Linked DNA regions of Homo sapiens: all the other regions are linked to region 2. Evidence: promoter capture Hi-C in 16 types of primary human blood cells and fetal thymus (Javierre and others, 2016). All regions are on one chromosome and are shown on one strand. The core of a region is centred on a gene start or on the middle of the fragment in contact, and the rest is flanking DNA. Distances in the headings are between cores, read along the strand shown. Region 1 has its middle 26 kb from the start of ZNF774. Region 2 holds the start of CRTC3 (CREB regulated transcription coactivator 3). Region 3 overlaps BLM (BLM RecQ like helicase). Region 4 overlaps CRTC3-AS1 (CRTC3 antisense RNA 1). Region 5 overlaps ZNF774 (zinc finger protein 774). Region 6 has its middle 34 kb from the start of NGRN. Region 7 overlaps BLM (BLM RecQ like helicase).

Region 1 (3,317 bases), core at 67-2,566, 200 kb before region 2:
TTGGGAGGCTATTATTTTTAGTAATAATAATAATTTAGTAATTTTTGTATTTTGTATTTTCACCATGTTGGTCAGGCTTGTCTTGAACTCCTGACCTCAGGTGATTCACCCACCTCGGCCTCCCAAAGTGCTGGGATTACAGGTGTGAGCCACCACGCCCCGCCACCAAAACCAGTTTTATTGAGGCAGCAGTGTTACCGCTCTGTAACTGCTCCTGCAGGAAGAGCTAGCCCATAGTCAGTGTGTGGAGAGTAGCAGCTAAGGGGCAGTTCCACAGTCATATTTATACCCACTTTTAATTACATGCAAATTAAGGGATGGGTTTTTCAGAAATTTCTAGGAAAAGGGTATAACTCCCAGGTTGTTGCCATGGAAAGGGGCAGTAACTTCTGGGTGTTGCCAGGGCACTGGTAAACTGACATGGCACTGGTGGGCATGTGTTATGGAGAGGTGCTTTCCCCTCTTCCCTGTTTCAGCTAGTCTTCAATCTGGCCTGGAGTACAGGCCTGCCTCCTGCCTCACAACTGCTGCTAATCAGGATGTATACTGAGGGTAACTTGACTCTATGCTCCCAGTTTGCAATATCTAGCTTGGCCCAAATAGATCCTCTGTCTTACTATTGTTATTTATTTTTTTTTAAGAGAAAAGGTCTTGCTCCTGTTGCCCAGACTGGAGTGCAGTGGCAGGATCTTAGCTCACCATAACCTCGAACTCCTGGGCTCAAGCAATCCTCCTGCTTCAGCCTCCTGAGTAGCTGGGACTACAGACATGAGCCACCATGCCTGGCTAATTTTTAAATTTTTTGTACAGATGGGGTTTCACTATGCTGCCCAGGCTGTTCTCAAACTCCTGGCAAGCAATCCTCCCAACTCAGCCTCCCAGAATCCTCGATTACAGGAGTGTACCACTATGCCCAGCCCCAGATAAATTCTCTACTTATATTAATTTTGCTTCAGCTTCCTTCTAGGTTGACAGTTCCCAGTTGACTCTCAAAATGTTTGTGAAATTAAGCAATTTCACTGGGGCATGGTGGCTCACACCTGTAATCCCAGCACTTTGGGAGGCCCAGGTGGGCAGATCTCTTGAGGTCAAGAGTTTGAGACCAGACTGGCCAACATGGTAAAACCCTGTTTCTACTAAAAATCCAAAAAAAAAAAAAAAAAAAAAAAGTCAACCAGGCATGGTAGCGCACGCCTGTAATCCCAGCTACTCGGGAGGTTGAGGTGGGAGAATCACTTGAACCCAAGAGGCGGAGGTTGCAGTGAGCCGAGATCATGCCACTGCCCTTCAGCCTGGGCAACAGAGAGAGACTTCATTTAAAAAAAAAAAGGCAATTTATTTAGTGATGTAAAAGTTTTCATGGATATATAAGGGAATCAGGGAGTCCTCAAGGCGGAAGAAGGTGAAGGAACAGAGCAGGGGAGGAAGAGGAGGGAGGAGAATCTCCCCCAGGCTGAGCAGACCAGGGCACTGAGCTCCAGATGTTTGCACCCCTCCTTTGTTTTCCCCATCTCTTCCCTACTCTCCAGGCCAGTCAGATGGCAAGGCCTGGACAACTGGAAGGAAAGAGAATGAAGGATGGAACTGGGGCGGCAGCTGTGTTGGCCACACAGGCCCTTCTGACTGGGCAGCATGGAGGCCACTTCTGCCAGCCTGAGAGTTGCAGAAGTAGATGGCAGGGAATCCCCTGCTTGGGGATGACACAGTAGGTAGATTAGAAAGTTGGAGAACAGGAACCGTAAGCCACTAGCAGGAACATGGTTGAAGAGCCGACCGTGGAGTCCAGACTGAGGGAGGAGGTAGAAAAGGAACAATAAGCAAGGAAGCAGAGGAGGCTGTGGCAAGGATAATGGGCAGCCCCAGTTATTCTAAGGGAAAAGGAGAGATGGAGTTGAGAGGCTGAAATGGAAGCAGCTCTGTGATGTGGCTGGCCTTTCGAGGTTACTGGAGCAGAGGAGGTAAAGGGACCATGAGCACAGGTGGTGGTGCTGTAATTAATAAGGATGAGGCCGGGCACGGTGGCTCACACCTGTAATCCCAGCACTTCAGGAGGCCACGGCAGGTGGATCACTTGAGGTCAGGAGTTCTAGACCAGCCTGGCCAACGTGGTGAAACCCCATCTCTACTAAAAATACAAAAAATTAGCTGGGTGTGTGGCGGGCACCTATAATCCCAACTACTCAGGGGGCTGAGGCAGGAGAATCACTTGAACCCGGGACACGGAGGTTGCAGCAAGCTGAGATCGTGCCATTGGACTCCAGCCTGGGCGACAATAGCGAAACTCCGTCCCCCCACCAAAAAAAATAATAAAATAAATAAGTATGCTGAAGCCACTGAGGATGAGAGCAAGACACTGGGATAAGGGGAGCCTGGTAGCCAGGTCCTAAAGCCATTCCAGAGGGCTGCAGAATGGCCCAGAGAAGAAGTTCTCAGCTAAGGCATGGCACTAATGACTAATCGATGGTTGTAATCATTTCTTCCTTTTTTTTTTTTTTTGAAACAAGGTCTTGCTCTGTCACCCAGGCTGGAGTGCAGTGGCACAATCATGGCTCACTACAGCCTTGACTCCTGGGTTCAAGCAATCCCCCTTCCTTAGCTTCCCAAAGTAGCATTACAATCAGCACCAGGAATTGAGCCCAGCTGAACTGAGCCACCATACGCATAGCAACTACAATTGAAATCTAGATGGGCGTGCTGTGCGTGAGGCAGGTGTTGGTAGGTCAGGCTACAAATTAAGTCTCAATCAATATTATTTTATTTTATTTTTTGAGACAGGTGAAATCTGAGAACATTATAAGTGAAATAAGCCAGTCAGACAAAGACAAATACTGTACGAGTCAGCTTATATGAGGTACTTAGAGTAGTTAAAATCTTAGAGGCCAGGCATAGTGGCTCACACCTGTAATCCCAGCACTTTGGGAGGCCGAGGTGGGAGGATTGCTTGAGCCCAGCAGTTTGACGCTAGCCTGAGCAACATAGTGAGACCCTCTCTCTCCAAAAATAAAATAAAATAGAATAAAATAAAATAAAATAGTCAGGCATGGTGGCACACGCTTGTAATCCCAGGTATTCCAGAAACTGAGGTGGGAGGATAACTTGAACCTGGGAGGTCAAGGCTGCAGTGAGCTATGATCACACCATTGTATTCCAGCCTGAGCAACAGAGCGAGACCCTGTTTCAAAAGAATAAAAAATAAAAACATTATAGAGACAGAAAATATGACGATAATTGCCGGGGGCTGGGGACAGGGGAAAGTGGGGAGTTATTGCTTAATGGGTATAGAGTTTCAGTTTTACAAGATGAAAAGAGTTCTGCAG
Region 2 (2,998 bases), core at 290-2,789:
AAAACATAATGGAATATTATCATATAAATGAATTGACACAAATATATCTCGAAAACATAATGGAGAATGAAAAAAGATGCAAAATGATTATTCAGTATGGTGTCATTTTTGTAAAGTTTAAAAACAAAATTAGGTATTCCATATAGCATTGCTGGATCTCTACATCATATGTAATAAAAGTATAAAAACACAAACTGGAATGATATGTACCAACTTGAGCACGGTGACTATCTGTGGGGCGGAAGAAGAAATGAGAGTGGGGCCGTCGTTATGACTAATTTTGTATGTCTTTAATAAATCCCAAGTACATGCAGCAAAATGTATTGATGTCTGTTTAATCTTGATAGTGGGGGGCGTGGGTAGTATTAATATTATTTTCCGTACTCTTCCGTAGGCCTCTAATATTTCCCTCTTTACAGAACACTGACACACGCTCAGGGCTCCCCGGGACATCTTTGTGCACATCAACATTTATGCTGAGAGTAGCTTCTGGACTCCAAAGAGGAAACTCCCCGGGCACTGTGGCCCACGCCTGTTATCCCAGCACTTTGGGAGGCTGAGGTGGGCAGATCGCTTGAGCCCAGGCGTTCGAGACCAGCCTGGGCAAAATAGCGAGACCCACCCCCGCCCCCCATTGCTACAAAAACATTTACAAACTAGCCGGGCGTGGTGACCCCCGCCTGTGGTCCCAGCTGGTCGGGAGGCTGAGGTGGGAGGATCTTTTGAGCCCGGGAGGTCAAGGCCGCGGTGAGTCGAGATCGCACCACTACACTCCAGACCGGGCGACAGAGAAAGACATCCATTCACTCCCCCAAAAGAAGGGGAAATTCGCTGAGGCTGAGCGCTGGTTTCCCAAGGTGGGGCTGGCACCTGCTGAAGCTGCCACAGGAGTGGAGAGGCCGTAGGGAGACTTGGAAAGAACCTGGAAAGGGGGCCGGGGCTATGGAGCCAAGGCTGCAGCAGGGCTGGATGGTGTTTGTAGTTTGTGCAGAATAGGAGGCAGTTTTTAAAGCCGAGATACAGCTCTGGTTGACTGGAGCGGGGAGGGGTGGGTGTGAGAGGTCAGGAAACCAGCGGCTGGAGGCCGGGGGCCTGGAGCGGCAGGGCTGGCGGGCAGACGTTAGGCCCCAGGCAAAATGGGCGCACCCCCTGCGGGGGCCCGAGGTGACCTGCTCGAGGTCCGGTCGCCCAGGTTCCACCTGGAGAAGAAAATCTTCGTAATTTGGCTGGGGGAGGGGGGATGCGGGCACAGGCTGTGTTCTCCACGTCGCGTAGACGCAGAGGCCATCCCTGGGTCGGAGAGTCTCCGTGGAGTGGCACCCCAGCGTTCCCCGTACGCCGGGGCCACTTTGTCGGGCTGACGGGGGTCCCTCCAGGTGGCCGCCGGCGGCGGGTCCCGAGCCAGACCGGGAAGCGGGGAGCAGCCCTCAGCCCGCGAGCGTGGGGCCGGGGCAGACTGGAGGCCGGGCGGGCCCCGCCGAGGGTGGGGCGGGGCCGGGCGCACGGGGGCGGACCTCGGCGCGCTCCCGGCCGCTCGCTGGCTCCGGGGCCGCGGCGGCTCCTCTGCCGGGTCGCGCCGGACGACTGGCTTCGGGCGGCGGCCCCGGCGGCCTGTGGACGGACGGGTGGGCCGAGGTACAGGCCCCACGGCCGCCGTCTCCCGCTTCTGCCCGCGCAGAGTCCGCGCCATGGCCGCCTCGCCGGGCTCGGGCAGCGCCAACCCGCGGAAGTTCAGTGAGAAGATCGCGCTGCACACGCAGAGACAGGCCGAGGAGACGCGGGCCTTCGAGCAGCTCATGACCGACCTCACCCTGTCGCGGGTGAGGGCCCGGGCCGGCGCGGGCGGGGGCGGCCACGGCCGCGGGCGGGACCCGCGCGGCGGGTGAGAGGTTGCGGGGCCAAGGCGATGGCGGGGCCGGGCGGGGGCCGCGCCCGGGAACCGGCGGCTGGGAGGGGGACCGGAGCGGCCGCGGCCTCGGCGTTTCCCCGCCTGGCGACACCCGCTAGCCGTTCGCGATCCCGGGCTGAGGTGGGAGGGTCGCCCGGCCCCGTGTGCGGGAAGATGGGCAGGGGTGAAGCCCGTGGAGGCGGGCGGCCGTGCGAGGGCGGCCTGAGGGGGAGGAGGACGAGGAGCCCCGAGAGGAAATCGCAAACAGCTCGGAGGCCGGCCGGGTGGCGCGGCGCGGCTTCTGGTCGCTCCGAACATCCCCCACCATCGAGCCCTGCTGTTCTGCCGGCGTGGAAGGCCGCGGGCACCCCAGGGTCCCACGCGCTCGTGGGGGGAGCTCTGTGCACAAGTCCATCCAGGGCCCGGCCCTGGGGTGGCTCGGGTTGTTGGAACCACGACGGGATTCCGTGTCGAGTGTGAGGCTCTGCTCCTTTTACTCCTTGGAGGTGCTTTATCGGGTCCAGTTTACTTTGTTCGGCCCGGGATATTTAGTGAGAACTGACAAGCGTCGCTGGTGACTGGAGAGGGACCTGGAGGAATGAGTAAGGCGCGAGCCGGGACAAACACCTGGAGAGGTTAGGTAACCGCTGAGTGAGGCAGTGGAGGATGGAGAGCCAACCGGAGTGTCCGCGCAGGGTTGCAGAGAAGGGGGGTCAGCAGGAGTGGGGCTGGCCTTGAGGATCCTGAATGCTGACCTTGGAGGACCATCGGGAGGATGGGGGAGGATCTGCAGATTCTGGGGGACTGAGGCGGGGGAGACAGTTTGAAGGAGAGCTGAGAGCAGAGTTGCAAACCAGCTGAGTTGCAGACACATTATTTTTTGGCCAGCGCAGTGTTTGGGAAAAATTATTGAATCTGTTGCCAGAATTTTTAAATTGGAAGACTTCCACACAAAATCCAAATTTCCGTATTATTTATTTATTATTATTTATATATGTTAAAAATTGGGAGACCTGGTAACACTAATTCTGAATTCCTACATGACAGCTACCGACCTGCTGGAGCTGGGTGATGATGAAAGGGAGCTGAGCTGAGCTCCCTTTCAAATGG
Region 3 (3,102 bases), core at 353-2,852, 240 kb after region 2:
AGTAATAATCAATAAATGAAAAATGTGAAGGAATTTGGGTAAATGTAAAAATGTAGGCATGTCTGTTGACTCCTTAATGTGTTTGGCACTTCTCTGCATTTGGAAGTAGGAAATTTTAAGGAATACTTTCTGGGACTCTGTTTCCTGATCTTTTCTGCCAGTAGGCCCTGGTTTGGATTAAATTTGCTCAACTGCTGCTATGTCGTGGCCCTGGCGAAGTCAGGTATTCCTAAGGTTGAAGCCACAGCCCCTGTGCTGCTCTCCTCCCGCCAGTCTGTAATAATATTCTTCCTCTTTGGGAAATATAAGGCACACAAAAAAGGCTTTATTCCATTTCCTTAGGGCCTTAAAATATGAACTGGAAGAGAGCAAAGAGACAGGCACATAGAGTTAACTATAATAGAACAATAATAATAGCTAACACTTACATATCCAGCCTACTCAGTGTGCCAGGCACTGTTGTCATTTTAAGTGTATTTACCTCCTTGTCCACACAAAAGCAAGGTAGGTACTCCTATTTTCCTCATTCTACAGGTGAGGAAATTGAGACACAAAGAGATTATATAACTTCATATGCCTAGCAAGGGTTGGAGTGAGAACTTAAAACACCAGATAGCTGGTTTCAGAATCCTTTAAATACTAGGTCAAATTGCAGAAAGAAGAAAGCAGTGATTTGAGATGTAAATTACAGCTGCAGGAACTGAAGAAGACAAGATAAGCTAGAACCCCCAGTAACAGCTGTTACAAGGAGGGGTCAGATCAAGTTTTGTAAAGGCACTGGGCATTGTAGGAGGAGTAGTTTATTTAAAAGCATAGGTTGGGCATGGTGACTCACGCCTGTAATCCCAGCACTTTGGGAGGCCAAGGTGGGCGGATCACCTGAGGTCACGAGTTCAAGACCAGACTGACCAACAAGGAGAAACCCCGTCTCTACTAAAAATACAAAACTAGCCGGGCCTGGTGGTGCATACCTGTAATCCCAGCTACTGGGGAAGCTGAGGCAGGAGAATCACTTGAACCCGGGAGGCGGAGGTTGCAGGGAGCCGAGATTGCACCACTGCACCCCAGCCTGGGCAACAAGAGCGAGACTGTCTCAAAAAAAAAAAAAAAAAAAAAAAAGATAAAAGCGTAGACAGCAGCCGAGCGCAGTGGCTCACAGCTGTAATCCCAGCACTTTGGGAGGCCAAGGGAGACGGATCACCTGAGGTCAGGAGTTGAAGACCAGCCTGGCCAACATGTTGAAACCCCATCTCTACTAAAAATATAAAAATTAACCAGGTGTGGTGGTGGGCGCCTGTAATACCAGCTACTTGAAAGGCTGAGACAGGAAAATTGGTTGTACCTGGGAGGCGGAGGTTGCAGTGATCCAAGATCATACGACTGCACTCCAGCCTGGGTGATAGAGCGAGACTCCATCTGAAAAACAAACAAACAAAAAAAGGCTTAAACAGCTGTATTGAAATAAAATTTACATACCATAAAATTCACCTAAAGTTGACACTTCAATGGCCTTTTTTTTTTTTTTTTTTTTTTTTAGTTTATAAGGTTGTGCAGCCATCACCATTATCTAATTTTAGAACATTTTTGTCTCTGTTGAAAGGGAGAGTATACCCATTAGCAGTCAATTCCTACTTTCTCACTTTCCCCATTCTTAGGCAACCCCTCATCTACTTTCTGTCTCTGTAGGTTTGCGCCTATTCTGGACATTTCATATAAATGGAATCACATAACATGTGGCCTTTTGTGACTGACTTCTTTCACTGAGCATGTTTTTAAGGTTCCTCCATGTTGTAGCCTGTTTTCAGTATTTCATTCCTTTCTATTTTCAGATAATATTCCATTTTATGGATCCTACTTTCTGTTTTATTTGCCCATTCATCATTTGATGGATGTTCAAGCTGTTTCAGTGTTTTGGTTTTTTTGAATAATGCTGCTGTGAACATTTGTGTAGAAGTTGTTCTGTGGTCATCAGTTTTATTTCTCTTGGGTTGCTGGGTCTGTGGTAACTGTATGATTAACCTTTTCAATTCAAGGACTACTAAACTAGTTTTCAAAGTGCCTCCGTCTTTTTTTTTTTTTTTTTTTTTTTTTTGAGGCGGAGTCTCACTCTGTCACCCAGGCTGGAGTGCAGTGGTGCAATCTCGGCTCACTACAACCTCCACCTCCTGGGTTCAAGCGATTCTCCTGCCTCAGCCTCCCAAGTAGCTGGGACTATTTTTGTATTTTTGTATTTTTCTAATTTTGTATTTTTAGTAGAGATGGGGTTTCACCATGTTGGCCAGGCTGTTCTCAAACTCCTGACCTCAGGTGATCCACCCATCTCGACCTCCCAAAGTGCTGGGCTTATAGGTGTGAGCCACTGCACCCGACCGCCTCCATCATTTTATATTACCTTCAGCAGTGTGTGGGGGTTGCAGTTTTTCCACATGCTTATCAACACTTGTTACTGTCTTTTTTTATTACAGCTATATGAAGTGGTAGGTGAACGGCATTTTAGCAGGCAAAGAGTGAAAATTCAGGGCTGAAGTTTCTGTTATAAAAGTACAGGTCAGGCCAGGCTCGGTGGCTCATGCCTGTAATCCCAGCACTTTGGGTGGCCGAGGCGGGTGGATCACCTGAGGTCAGGAGTTGGAGACCAGCCTGGCCAACATGGTGAAACCCCATCTCTACTAAAAATACAAAAATTAGCCGGGCGTGGTGGCATGCACCTATAGTCGCAGCTACTCGGGAGGCTGAGACAGGAGAATTGCTTGAAACCAGAAAGTGGAGGTTGCAGTGAGCCGAGATCATGCCACTACACTCCAGCCAAAAAAAAAAAAAAAAAGTACAGGTCAGGCCCAAGGAATGGTGAATAATCCATTGGATAAGTGGAGAAACATAGAGAAGGGATGACCCTGACAAGGTGGCTTGACGCCAGATCATGGAGGATCTTGCATATAACGATGGTAAAATGTTTGGACTTTATTCTTTTGGCACTTTAACCTGGGAAGTGGCTTGATCTGAACTGTGTGGATGAATGATAACCCTGGCAAGAGAATAGAGGAGAGGATGAGTGAGAGAACAGAAAGTTAGAGGTAGAGCAGCCCTTCAGGAACTTATTGC
Region 4 (3,013 bases), core at 220-2,719, 180 kb after region 2:
GTTTCACAGGTACCTCTCTACACGAGCAGGTGCAAATTGTCACTGATGGGGGAAACATGAAACAAACTCAGATGCCTCCAGGGACACGTGAGAAGCCACACTTGTTTCAGCCTATTGTTCTCTTGAGGGAATGTGGGCCCTGTGATGATGCTAGATCTTTCTTTTCTTTCTGTACCTTCCTCTCTTCTTCCCTCTCTCCTTCCTTCCCTCCTTCTCTCCTTCCCTCACACCCTCCCTCCCTTTCTTCTTTCCTCTTTTTTAAGAAAAACTGAAAATCTATTTCTGTTTTGATTGGAGCTTTTGTGTGTGTGTAAAATATGTTGTGTGTGTGTTTTTTTTTTCCACAGCAACTGCTTTTTGTGTGTGTGGTAAAATATGTATGAAATAAACTGCCATTTTAACCTTTTTATGAGTAGAACTCAATGGCATTAATTACATTCAAAATGCTGTACAGCCATTGCCACAATTTCTAAACTTTTTCATCCCCCCAAATGGAAACTATGAACCCAGTAAGCAATAATTCCTCATTCTTCCCTCCTTCCTACTCTCAGTTCCTGAAACCTCTAATCTACTTTCTGTCTCTATGAATTTGCCTATTCAAAATCTTTCATATAAATGGAGTCAGATCGTATTTGTTTTTTTGTGTTGGCATATTTGACTCAGAATGTTGTAGCATGTGTCAGAGCTTCACTCCTTTTCATGGCCGAATGATACTCCACTGTATGGATATACTACTTTTTTTTTTTTTTTTTTTGAGATGGAGCCTCGCTCTGTTGCCCAGGCTGGAGTGCAGTGGCACGATCTTGGCTCACTACAACCTCCACCTGCCAGGTTCAAGCAATTCTCCTGCCTCAGCCTCCCGAGTAGCTGGGGTTACAGGAACACGCCACCATGCCCGGCTAACTTTTTTGTATTTTTAGTAGAGACAGGGTTTCACTATGTTGGCCAGGCTGGTCTGGAACTCCTGACTTCAAGTGATCCACCCACCTCAGCCTCCCAAACTGCTGGGATTACAGGTGTGGGCCACTGTGCCCAGCTTATTAGATATACCACATTTTGTTTATTCATTCATCTGTTAATGAACATGTGGGTGAAATATGTCAATTTTTACTTGTTGCAAAAACAAAACACACCTTTTTTTTTTTTTTTTTTTTTTGAGACGGAGTCTCGCTCTGTGCCCCAGGCTGGAGTGCAGTGGCGCGATCTCGGCTCACTGCAAGCTCCACCTCCCAGGTTCATGCCATTCTCCTGCCTCAGCCTCCCGAGTAGCTGGGACTACAGGCGTGTGCCATGACACCTGGCTAATTTTTGTATTTTTAGTAGAGACGGCGTTTCACCATGTTAGCCACGATGGTCTCAATGTCCTGACCTCGTGATCTGCCTGCCTCGGCCTCCCAAAGTGCTGGGATTACAGGCATGAGCCACCGCGCCTGGCCAAAACACATCATTGTTAAATAACTCCTCAGGCTACCCTTCTCTATGGGAAAATGCAGAGTAAATCAACAGATTTTTAATAGCAAAATGGCCAAGGAAAAAGCAGGATAGAGACAACGCAAAGATACAAACAATCTACCAAATGAATAAAGCCACTAATGTTACTTAGGCTCAAACAGTATCCCCCAAAGTGAGAGGCTGGATACTCACAACTCGATAAAGGGTGACATTCACCTGATATTGTTGCTGTCTCACATGGCCTTAATCATCTTATTGCTTTTGTCTTCACTGTTCTTCAATTTTGTGCCCTTCTCTAGTGCCAGCCATTGTGGTAGGCCCTGAAGAACACCCTCATGGAGAGCATATTCTGTAGAGGAAGACAGGCACACTAATAGTATCAACACAACCAATACAAATGCTGACTGCTGTTATGGGAAAACCTAGGAGGGATACACAGGCAGATTTGGAGGATTAGGTAAGGCTTTCCAACTTCCCAACTTCTCCAACAACTTGCAGAGAAGTTGTCCTGAGACCTGAGAGATGAATGAGAGGTATGATTTGGAGGCAAAGGCCAGGAAACTGGAAAGACTATAAAACACCTTGAGGAAATGACAGGAAAATGGGGATGAGGGACAGATGACATATGAGAGGAAGCAGGGACTCAATCGGAGTTTGGTATTCACCTTGAAGGCAAATGGGAGCTGCTGGAAGGATTCTGTGTTTTTTTTTTTTTTGAGACAGATTCTCACTGCTGCCCAGGGTGGAGTGCAGTGGTGTGATCTCAGCTCACTGCAACCTTTACCTCCCACCTGGAAGGTAGATGTTAGCGTAGGGTGGTGAAAGGCTTGTGCACTCATCTTAATCTTAAATATATACCTTGGCCAGGCAAGGAGGCTCACGGCTGTAATCCCAGCACTTTTGGAGGCTGAGGCTGGCAGATCGCCTAAGGCCAGGAGTTTGAGACCAGCCTGGGCAACATGGCAAAACCCCATTTCTACTAAAAATACAAAAATTACCCAGGCGTGGTGGCATGTGCCTGTGGTCCTAGCTACTCAGGAGGCTGAGGTGGGTGAATTACTTGAGCCTGGGAGGTGGAGGTTGCACTGAGCCAAGATGGCACCACTGCATTCCAGTCTGGGCAACAGAGGCAGACCCTGTCTCAAAAAATAAAAATAAATTTTAAAAAATTGAAAAAATACATATCTCAATGATTGTATGTATATAATGATTTTATATATAAATGATTTATATATTACTTTATCTATATTAAATGTCTATATAAGACAGATATGTAATTTCCAGCACTCCATAAGATTTCCTTGGGAGCTTCCTCATCTACCTCTGCCTCCAGGGGTAACCTGGTATGCACTATATACTCTTTTTCTCTTTTTTTTTTGAGATGGAGTCTTGCTCTGTCGCCCAGGCTGGAGTGCAGTGGCGTGATCTCGGCTCACTGCAAGCTCCGCCTCCCAGGTTCACACCATTCTCCTGCCTCAGCCTCCTGAGTAGCTGGGACTACAGGCGTCCGCCACCATGCCTGACTGATTTTTTTGTATTTTTTAGTAGAGACAGGGTTTCA
Region 5 (3,429 bases), core at 30-2,529, 170 kb before region 2:
CCCGAGTAGCTGGGACTACAGGCGCCCGCCACCGCGCCCGGCTAATTTTTTGTATTTTTAGTAGAGACGGGGTTTCACCTTGTTAGCCAGGATGGTCTCGATCTCCTGACCTCATGATCCACCCGCCTCGGCCTCCCAAAGTGCTGGGATTACAGGCGTGAGCCACCGCGCCCGGCCACTAGCAGACATTTAAATTTGACTTAATGGTCAGTAGTTGACTAAATAAAGTCTTCATTTTGATTAAGCATTTCACTTTTGTCTAACCTATGTTTTTTTTTGAGATGGAGTCTCCCTCTGTCTCCCAGCCTGGAGTGCAGTGACACAATCTCTGCTCACTGCAACCTCCGCCTCCCGGGTTCAAGTGATTGTCCTGCCTCAGCCTCCCAAGTAGCTGGGACTATAGGCACCCGCCACCACGCCCAGCTAATTTTCATATTTTTAGTAGGGATGGAGTTTCACCACGTTGGCCAGGTTGGTCTCGAACTCCCAACCTCAAGTGATCTGCCTGCCTCGGCCTCCCGAAGTGCTGGGATTATAGGCGTGAGCCACCACGCCTGGCCTAAACCTATAATATCTTCTAAAGAAACCGCACAATATTGACAATATGTGGTCTCCGCTTGAAGGATATCAAGATTCATCTGGCCATCTTAAAATTTAAAAAGTTTAGGAATTCACGTGTTCTGACAGCTCAATGAACCTCAATAAACTTTTCACAAAGTGAAAACAGAGCGGTTGAATTAAGTGCAGTCTGCTGCAGAAACAGGGATTTTAATCTTTGTCACTGCTTTCTGATATTCCTTCCTGATAACTGATAACTTTATTCTCTGTTACTTACATTAATTTTTCAGACTGTGAGCATCAGGTGGCAAAGCTCAATCAGGACAATTCTGAAACAGCAGAACAATGTGGAACATCCTCAGAAAGGACCAATAAAGATCTTTCTCATACTCTTAGTTGGGGAGGAAACTGGGAGCAAGGCCTAGAATTAGAAGGGCAACATGGAACCCTTCCAGGAGAGGGCCAGCTGGAGTCCTTTTCACAGGAGAGGGATTTAAACAAGCTCCTGGATGGATATGTAGGAGAGAAGCCTATGTGTGCAGAATGCGGGAAAAGCTTTAACCAGAGTTCCTATCTCATAAGACACCTAAGAACCCACACTGGCGAGAGGCCCTATACGTGCATTGAGTGTGGGAAAGGCTTCAAACAGAGCTCAGACCTTGTCACCCATCGCAGAACACACACAGGAGAGAAGCCCTACCAATGCAAGGGGTGTGAGAAGAAATTCAGCGACAGCTCAACACTCATCAAACATCAGAGAACCCACACAGGGGAGAGACCCTATGAGTGCCCAGAGTGTGGAAAGACTTTTGGGCGGAAGCCACACCTCATAATGCACCAAAGAACCCACACAGGCGAGAAGCCCTACGCGTGCCTGGAATGTCACAAAAGCTTCAGTCGAAGCTCAAATTTCATCACTCACCAGAGGACCCACACAGGGGTGAAGCCTTACAGGTGTAATGACTGTGGGGAGAGTTTTAGCCAGAGCTCGGATTTGATTAAGCACCAACGAACCCACACGGGAGAACGGCCCTTCAAATGCCCGGAGTGCGGGAAGGGCTTCAGAGATAGTTCTCATTTTGTAGCTCACATGAGCACTCATTCAGGAGAGAGGCCTTTCAGTTGTCCTGACTGCCACAAAAGCTTCAGTCAGAGCTCACATTTGGTCACGCACCAAAGAACACACACAGGTGAGAGACCTTTTAAGTGCGAAAACTGTGGGAAAGGATTCGCCGACAGCTCCGCCCTCATTAAGCACCAACGAATCCACACCGGAGAAAGACCCTACAAATGTGGAGAGTGTGGGAAGAGCTTCAATCAGAGCTCCCACTTTATTACCCATCAGCGAATCCACTTAGGAGACAGGCCCTATCGATGTCCTGAGTGTGGCAAGACCTTCAATCAGCGTTCCCATTTCCTCACACACCAGAGAACGCATACAGGAGAAAAACCTTTCCACTGTAGTAAATGTAACAAGAGCTTCCGTCAGAAAGCGCATCTTTTATGCCATCAAAACACCCATTTGATTTAGGAAGTAGTCTTTGGTGTTCAGCTGCTCCCTTGCACATTTTCATTGCTACTGTCTTCAAGCACCCCAAATAGAGAAAACCTGGGCGTCAGTGGCTCAATTTGGGCCCTGATCTATTCTCCCTCTTTCTTGTCTATGTTATAACAGAGAGGATAAACTTAAAGGGTCCAAATAACGGTCCGAATACAAAAGGCATTCCTTCAGTGTGTGACTGACTCTTAGGGAAATGTGAGTTTAATAGTTGATGCCCGCCAGGCGTGGTGGCTCACCCCTGTAATCCCAGCACTTTTGGGAGGCCAAGGTGGGTGGATCACTTGAGGTCAGGAGTTGAGACCAGCCTGGTGAGCATGGTGAAACCTCATCTCTACTAAAAATGCAAAAATTAGCTGGGCATGGTGGCACGTGCCTGTAGTCCCAGCTACTCGGGAGGCCGAGGCAGAAGAATCATTTGAACTCAGAAGGTGCAGGTTGCAGTGAGTTGAGATCATGCCACTGCACTCCAGCCTGGGCAACAGAGAGAGACTCTGTCTCCAAAAAAATTAAAAAGTTGATGCCTAGTTACTAAATGAGAAGTGAGAAAAATGTGGCCTAGAGATCACATGTTCACCACCTAGTACAGTGCCTGGCACAACATAGATGCTCAATAACTAAATGGTCCCATCATTATTAATGATTAATAGTTGAGGTCTTATATAAAGGCTTTAATGCAGTACCTGGCCCTTAAAAGACACTCAGTACAAGATTGGTGGCTTTTATCAGTCTTATTACTCAATTAGAAATTTATTAGTGTAGTCCCCCCGCCCCAAACTCAGAACGTGAAAGAAATTAGATTGGAACTAGAAGGTTTGGGGTTGGAATACACAAATTGAATAAAATGGAAATGCACTGCCAGTTCAGTGCTGTGCAGGCATTAGTCACCAGAGGTCTCACTGCCATGACAAGGCCAAATTATCGTAGAGGATGTTTGCGGTCTTGTGACTTGGAGGCTGAAAGAATTTCAGAAGCTCTTTTAAATGGCAGTGTATGGCAGTGTATCTACCAGAGGTTTGCTGTCATCTGACACAGAGAAAATATCCTACAATGAACAAGCCAGAGGGACCTGGTAGAGGACTATAAAATTGTGGAAGCAAAATTGCTGAGAATGTCAAATGATATTACAGGGATCCTCCCTGGCATTTAGCTGAAGGAAGCAACTCTTGTTTTCTAATTTGCTGGGTCATTGGCCATTTAGTTTTAGGTTAATATAATTCTCTGATCCTTTTAGGGCCATCCAGGTTATGCACTAGTACATTCCTACATTCAATTGAAATAAATTGAGGGACGGCAAGTGTGTTGGAAAGAAC
Region 6 (3,488 bases), core at 102-2,601, 230 kb before region 2:
GTGGCTAATTAACAGTGGTACGATTTCTAGCCCGAGGGTTTAAAATGGACTTAAGGTCCTGTTGTTGCCTTTTATTTTCTGAACTTGCTGCTTTTGCATTCTTTGAGTTCAGTTTAAAGACAGTTACTTTAAGTCCATTTTAAACCCTCGGGCTAGAAATCGTACCACTGTCAATTAGCCACATTATTTGGTCTAACAGTTTTTCTTTATCATTCTGAAACTGGGTTTATCTGATACATTGATAAATTATTTCAAAGGTATTTTAATAGTTCAAATCACTTCACTTTTACATTGATAAATGTAAATGACTAGGAATGACCTTCGGATAGCGTTTAGCATCTGTAATCAATCTGACAATAATGTGTTCATCAGGTACCTCTGGATTAACTCACATACCGGCATACTTAAGCTGAATGTCTGTCTGGAAATAAATTTACTATATTAACTGAGATACTACTTTTTGTGTAGGTATTTTTGTCATATATTTAAGAAAAAGCTAACAAGGATGGAAATCATATTATAATAACTTAAGTCTTTCTTCAAAGGGCATGCAGTCTTTTGCAATACCTCATTCAGCCAGATATTTGTTCTCTTTCTCATTCAGTATAAGACAGCTTTCAATTTGCTTAGCAGGCAACATTAGAAGGTTAGAGTTCATGGAAACATAGAATTTTAAAATGTGAGTTCAACCGAATAAATTTGAATTTCTGTAGGAGGTAAAGAATCAAAATACTTGTTTATTTAAAGGTTGCAGTATATGATAATCATTTTGAAGTATTTGATTAATACTAATAGGTTTTCCAGAACTGAAAAACTAATGTTAAAACCAAAGCTGATTTCTAGAAAATTTGAAAATGTAAATCAGCCTTATCCAGAATATAGTTTCTCTAAAACTTTCTTAGTCATTTTACAATAGTATAACTATTAAAAAATGTAACTGCTATTTTAATGTTTTGAAATAAATTAAAACATTTTAAAATATGAATACTGTAGCTTAAAAGAAAGAAACTAGGGGAAGGAAAAGTAAAGAAAGAAATGCCAATTCCAGTCCAAAACTTTATTTGCCAAGTTTTCTTATAATGACTTACCAATTTAGGAATTCTTGTAAACAGAATCTATAATGGAAATACTGAAAGACTTTTGCCTAAAGTGGCATTATTGAATACTGCTGTGATGCTACTGTATGTAATAAATTATTGTTGCAAAGTGCTGTTTTTGCCTTAAATTTTTATTTTGTGTGTCTTGAAAACTATAGTATTAAAGGTATTGAGATTGTGCAAATGCCAGGCATGCTTGGCATGAAATAGTGTTTTTATTTTTACAAAATTGTAATATGACTATGCAAGCATTTAACTAATTAATTAATTTATTTATTTTGAGATGGAATTTCACTCTGTTGCCCAGGCCAGAGTGCAGTGGCACGATCTCGGCTCACTGCAACCTCCACCTCCTGGTTTCAAGCAGTTCTCCTGCCTCAGCCTCCCGAGTAGCTGGGACTACAGGTGCACGCCACCATGCCCAGCTAATTTTTGTATTTTTAGTAGAGATGGGGGTTTCACTATGTTGGCCAGGCTGGTCTCAAACTCCTGACCTCGTGATCTGCCCACCTCAGCCTCCCAAAGTGCTGGGATTACAGGCGTGAGCCACCGCGCCCGGCTGCAAGTGTTTACCAAAAGAACACATACTGAAAAAATAGTTATGGGATTTTAAAAAGTTAGGAGATTAAAAAAAGTTATGAGATTTAAAAAGTTATGAGATTAAAAAGTTATGGGATAAAGTTACGTTATGGGATAAAAAAGTTACGGGATAAAAAATGTTATGGTCAGTGGCTCACTGGGCTTACAGGTGTGAGCTACCGCCCTGGGCCTAGTTCCCTGCTTTTGGATGACCGCGATCTTCATCTCATCTTCACCTGTCTCCCCCATCAGACACTTCTCCAGGCTTTGCTGAAAGTGGCCTGCTTTTATTTATTTAATATTTATCACATAACTTTTTTTCGTAAAACTTTTTTTGGAATATTTTTCCATAACTTTTTCCATAACTTTTTTCCCACAACTTATTTCCAAAACTTTTTTATTTTTATTTTTTTGAGACGGAGTTTTGTTCTTGTTGCCCAGGCCGGAGTGCAATGGCACAATCTCAGCTCACCGGAACCTCCACCTCCCAGGTTCAAGAGATTCTCCTGCCTCAGCCTCCTAAGTAGCTGGGATTACAGGCATTCACCACCACGCCTGGCTAATTTTGTATTTTTAGTAGAGATGGGTTTCTCCATGTTGGTCAGGCTGGTCTCAAACTCCCTATCTCAGGTGATCCACCCACTTTGGGATCCCAGTACTTTGGGAGGCTGAGGCGGGCAGATCACCTGAGGTCAGGAGTTCAAGACCAGCCTGGCCAACATGGTGAAACCCTGTCTCTACTAAAAATACAAAAAATTAGCCAGGTGTGGTGGCGGGCGCCTGTAATCCCAGCTATTCGGGAGGCTGAGGCAGGAGAATTGCTTGAACCCGAAAGGCAGAGGTTGCAGTGAGCCCAGATGGCACCACTGTACTCCAGCCTGGGCAACAGAGCAAGACTCCATCTCAAAAAAAAAAAAAAAAAAAAAGTTACAGAAAAAACGTGATTAAAAAAAGTCATGGGATAAAAATAAAAACAAAAGCAGGCCCCTGTCAGCAAAGCCTGGAGAAGTGGGGCCAGAGGCTCCACCCCCACCATGTCCCTGCCACCCCTTCCCAGTCACCCCTTTACCATTAGAGTAGCAAGACAAGACCCCTGTCTAATAGGGAGAGACAAACAGACCCTTTGCCACCCTGGCCAGGGCTGAGTCCTTAAATTTCTGGATGATGATGATTGTTATTTAAGAGGCAGAGGCTGATGGGAGTTGGTTTGTTCGGAGGAGGCCTCATGGCCTCCTTACTTTCACCAAAGCAATTTTTCCCTCAGGCTCCCGTCTTCTTAGTCAGAGAGGCAGCTGAGGCGGGACAGTGGGGCTAACTGTAGACCAGGCAAGGGCATGAGCTGCTGAGGGTGGCCCCCCTTCCCCCATGTACACATTGTGTCTGTGTAACGTTTTATATATTCTGGGGGGTAGGGCCGCCCCTGTATAGTACCTAGTGGAGATTGGAGCTGGCACATGGCGGGGAGGTTCTAATAATTATTTGCAGCTGGGGAATTTATTTGATAGCATAGGACAGAGGAAGGAGGCGGGGATGGGGTCGTGACTTCCTGGCGATGCAACTCCTGTTTATTTTGCTTTTTATTTTGGAATAAATGGATTTAGCCATACTGCTAGCCTGGTGTGTTCCTGCTTCCCCCACTGGGTCCTGGAGTTTGTGCCACTGAACGAGGAGCCCCAGAGTGTCCGAGCATGTCCAGCTGGTCTGTTGGGGACCTTCCAGACCTGTTACCTGTATGCTGCCTGGTGACGCGTGGGGGAGTCCACAGGGACTGCCATGGCGCCTACGGGGCACAGTCCGGCCCTGACGGCCAAC
Region 7 (3,522 bases), core at 119-2,618, 210 kb after region 2:
AAGTCGCTGGGATTACAGGCGCCCACCACCACACCTGGCTAATTTTTGTATTTTTAGTAGAGATGCGGTTTCACCATCTTGGCCAGGCTGGTCTCAAAGTCCTGACCTCAGGTGATCTGCCCACCTCGGCCTCCCAAAATGCTGGGATTACAGATGTGAGCCACCATGCCTGGCCAATCAATACTTCTTAATGATGGTATTCTCTCTCTCTCTCTCTGTCTCTGTCTCTCACGCACACATACACACACACGCGCGCACGCACGCACACACACACACACACACGCAGAGAGAGAGAGAGAGAGAGAGAGAGAGAGAGAGAGACTTTATTCCTAAATCCTGTATTTTATCTAATAGGAAAATACTAGAGGCATTTTTACTAAGATTGAGAAAAATATAGAGATACTCACCAACTCCACTTGTATTTAACATTGTACTGGGGGCTTAGCCAATGCAGTTAGATAAATCAATTAGAGGCACAAGATTTGGAAAATAAAAAGTAATATTGTCCCTACTTGCAGGTGATATGGTAGTGTGTCTGGAATACTGCAGAAAATCAATAATGAAACTAACTAAACAGAAAAGGAATTTTATAAGAATATGCAAAAATCAGTAGTCTTCATATACACAACAAGTTTGAATATATAATGAAGGGTAAAATCCCATTTACAGCAACAAGAAAAAGAGAAAATATTTAGGAATTTAAAAACATGTAAAACCTAGGTGAAGAAATCTTTAAAACACTTCTGAATAACAAAAATAGCCTTAAACAAATGAAATCTTTTGTTCTAGGACAGGACAACAACATCATAAAAGTGCCTAAGTTAATATATATATATATATATATATATATATATATATATTTAAGTTAATACATATACCTAAGTTAATATATAAATTTAATGCAATCTCAATATAAATATCAACAGAGTTCTGGCACTAGACAAGTTGATTCTAAAGTTCATATAGAAAAATAAACATATAAGAATAGGAAAACAGAAGAGCTACAAAGAGAAAGTAGACTTCCAGATATTGTAACATGTTGCAAAGCTTCTATCATGATAATATTGTGGTATAGACCAATGGTATAGAATGGAAAGTCAATAATTAGTCTCCTAAACACATGAAGAATTTAGTGTATGATAAAGGTAGTTCTGAAATTATTAGGGCAGAGATGGACTCTTTATAAATAGTGCTGGGACAACTTGTTAGCCACTTGAAAAAACAAAATTATATCTATACTTTATATCAGACACAGGAATAAACTCCAAATGAACCAGAAATCTAATTTTTTTTAAATTACCTACTAGAAGAATACATAGATGAGTTTTCTGTAACCTGGATGTGGAGAAGGGCAATAAAAGAGGGGGAAAAATTGGCTACATTGAAAAGCAAATTCTTGATTACAAAAATGAAAAACACCATAAGCAAATTTAAAAGATAGATGAGAAACCAGGAAAAAAATCTGCAAAATACATTTTAAAGACCTACTATCCCTAGTCTAAATTGAGAGAAAAAAATACTAAAATTTGGTTAAAAAGGCAGAATACATGAGCAGATACAATTTTTTAAAAAGATTCAAAAACCATCCTTAAATATGTGAAGAAAATATTCAATTTCACCTAAACAGGAAGTGTAAATTTAAAGCTGCACTGAAATACCGTTTCTCACCTATCAGCTCTGCACTAATTAGAAAGCTTCACAAGAAGCCCCATTGGTGAGGCTGTGAGGAATGCAAACTTGTAAAACCTCCTTTGAGGGAGAAGTTGGCAATCCAGCAGACTACACATGCATTTGCCCTTTGACCCAGCCATTCCACTTGTAGAAATATTCCCTAAAGATACATTTTCTTTTCTTTCTTTCCTTTTTTTTTGAGACAGGGTCTTGCTTGTTGCCCAGGCTGAAGTGCAGTAGTGTGATCTTGGCTCACTGCAGCTCAAACTCCCAGGCTCAATTGATCCCACCTTGGCCTCTGGAGTAGCTGGGACCACAAGTGCATGCCACCACGCCTTACTAATTTAAAAATTTTTTTTATAGAGACGGAGTCTCACCATGTTGCCCAGGCTGGTCTTGAACTCCTGGACTCAAGCAATCCTGTCTCTGCCTCCCAAATTGCTGGGATGACAGGTGTGAGCCACCGTGCCCGGCCTTACGTTTTCAACAGTAGGGAAATATGAATGCACAAAGTTATTTGTTGCAGCATTATTTGTAATTGTAAAATATCAGGGAATACCTTAAATGTCCATACAGGAAATTTGTTGGTAAATATCTACACAATGGAGTACTGTACAGCTGTAAAGAAGAATGAGGAAAATCTTTGCAAACGGGTGTAGAGTGATTTCTAACATGAATGGAAAGCGTACATACAGTGTGCTATTTTTTATGTAAGAAAGAAGGGAAAATATGAGACTCTAATGTCTGCTTATTTTGCAAAAAGAAAAACAGGAAAGATAAATCAGAAATTATTGAAATTGATAACCCACAGGAAGTAGATGGCAAAGGATGGAGAGGGAAGAACACTTCTCTGTGGGGAAAAACAGTCTTTTATGTAGTTTTAACTTTTAGAACTATGTAAATGTTTTATATATTCAAAAATCAAATCCACAAGAACAGTACAAACACAAACTAATCTAATTCAAATGATGAATGTAATCACCCTGAAGGTGAGGTGGGACTGACCAATCAAGTAACTTTTGAATATAGTACTTTAATTATGTACCCTTAATCTGAAGAAAGAAATGCAACTGAATTTTGAACTCTTCTTAGTAGGTTTTTTTTTTTTAGTGACAGGAGTGTAGCAATTTGAAATTACTTCCTATAGTTTCAGATTGAATAAATGAATAAATATATGATGGTTTTTTCTATGAATTTTAAGATAGATGGATAGATCAATGGATGTATAGCTGTAGATACAGAAATAGATAGAAGTGTTTATATTTCCTAGATCTGTCTACTAAAAGGGCCTAGGAGCAATGATATGCAAGTAGCAGATCATATCTAATGGCCAGGTCTTAGATTTTAAAGATTTTTCCTCATTAAAATAAATGAAGGCTGTTTGAGGAAATGGTGATTCTATGGCTGAAGCAGGAAAAGTAAATGAAGACCATGAATGTTGTGCCAGGTAATAAGAAAGTGCCTGATGGGAACACTTTAAAGGACAGAGGAACCAATGGATTAAAGAAGAAAACAAGAGACATTAGAGTATATCTTGAGACAATGAAAACGAAAACACAACATGCCAAAACTCATGGAATACAGTGAAAGCAGTACTAGAAAGGAAATTTATAGCTACAAATGCTTACATTAAAAAAGAAAGATCTGAAATCAACAATTTAACTTCACACTTAAAGGAACAGTAAAAAGAACAAACCAAACCCAAAGCTACAGAAACAAGGAAATAATAAATATTAGGGCAGAGATAAACAAAACAGGGACTAGAAAAGCAGTAGAGAAATTGACAAAACAGAATTGATTCTTTGAAATGATAAAAAAATTGATAAAACTTTAGCCAGATGGACTAAGAAA

Evidence for each region. Contacts are between HindIII fragments. The CHiCAGO score rates a contact against its expected background, and 5 or more counts as called.
Region 1: a contact is called between a fragment that was not itself captured here and the fragment with the promoter of CRTC3 in region 2, in 15 of 17 cell types (activated CD4 T cells, naive CD8 T cells, total B cells and 12 more). The highest score is 11.7, in activated CD4 T cells.
Region 3: a contact is called between a fragment that was not itself captured here and the fragment with the promoter of CRTC3 in region 2, in 1 of 17 cell types (total B cells). The highest score is 5.3, in total B cells.
Region 4: a contact is called between a fragment that was not itself captured here and the fragment with the promoter of CRTC3 in region 2, in 1 of 17 cell types (activated CD4 T cells). The highest score is 6.4, in activated CD4 T cells.
Region 5: a contact is called between a fragment that was not itself captured here and the fragment with the promoter of CRTC3 in region 2, in 6 of 17 cell types (total B cells, activated CD4 T cells, non-activated CD4 T cells and 3 more). The highest score is 8.1, in total B cells.
Region 6: a contact is called between a fragment that was not itself captured here and the fragment with the promoter of CRTC3 in region 2, in 4 of 17 cell types (activated CD4 T cells, erythroblasts, endothelial precursors and 1 more). The highest score is 6.9, in activated CD4 T cells.
Region 7: a contact is called between a fragment that was not itself captured here and the fragment with the promoter of CRTC3 in region 2, in 3 of 17 cell types (naive B cells, total B cells and activated CD4 T cells). The highest score is 7.2, in naive B cells.

The regions. Positions count from the first base shown.
Region 1 is chr15:90,324,192-90,327,508 of GRCh38, forward strand. No RefSeq gene overlaps it. Among named protein-coding and RNA genes, the nearest start is that of ZNF774, 26 kb to the right of the region's middle. The HindIII fragment of the contact is 8,593 bases long and covers 1-3,317 here.
Region 2 is chr15:90,528,384-90,531,381 of GRCh38, forward strand. It overlaps CRTC3 (CREB regulated transcription coactivator 3), which reads left to right and starts at 1,540. Exons shown (of 15, transcript NM_022769.5): 1 at 1,540-1,820. The coding sequence starts at 1,689. RefSeq lists silencers at 994-1,043, 1,144-1,893, 1,914-2,093 and an enhancer at 2,484-2,643. The HindIII fragment of the contact is 15,096 bases long and covers 1-2,998 here.
Region 3 is chr15:90,772,001-90,775,102 of GRCh38, forward strand. The region is part of intron 12 of BLM (BLM RecQ like helicase); the gene reads left to right. Among named protein-coding and RNA genes, the nearest start is that of BLM, 56 kb to the left of the region's middle. The HindIII fragment of the contact is 5,454 bases long and covers 1-3,102 here.
Region 4 is chr15:90,711,499-90,714,511 of GRCh38, forward strand. It overlaps CRTC3-AS1 (CRTC3 antisense RNA 1), which reads right to left. Exons shown (of 4, transcript NR_120372.1): 2 at 1,669-1,801. Among named protein-coding and RNA genes, the nearest start is that of CRTC3-AS1, 4.1 kb to the right of the region's middle. The HindIII fragment of the contact is 3,528 bases long and covers 1-3,013 here.
Region 5 is chr15:90,359,195-90,362,623 of GRCh38, forward strand. ZNF774 (zinc finger protein 774) reads left to right here. Exons shown (of 4, transcript NM_001004309.3): 4 at 849-3,429. The coding sequence ends at 2,089. Among named protein-coding and RNA genes, the nearest start is that of ZNF774, 8.6 kb to the left of the region's middle. The HindIII fragment of the contact is 336 bases long and covers 1,112-1,447 here.
Region 6 is chr15:90,297,694-90,301,181 of GRCh38, forward strand. It overlaps the pseudogene GOLGA2P8. Among named protein-coding and RNA genes, the nearest start is that of NGRN, 34 kb to the left of the region's middle. RefSeq lists a silencer at 2,428-2,620 and an enhancer at 2,965-3,488. The HindIII fragment of the contact is 8,093 bases long and covers 1-3,488 here.
Region 7 is chr15:90,734,413-90,737,934 of GRCh38, forward strand. The region is part of intron 1 of BLM (BLM RecQ like helicase); the gene reads left to right. Among named protein-coding and RNA genes, the nearest start is that of BLM, 19 kb to the left of the region's middle. The HindIII fragment of the contact is 647 bases long and covers 1,046-1,692 here.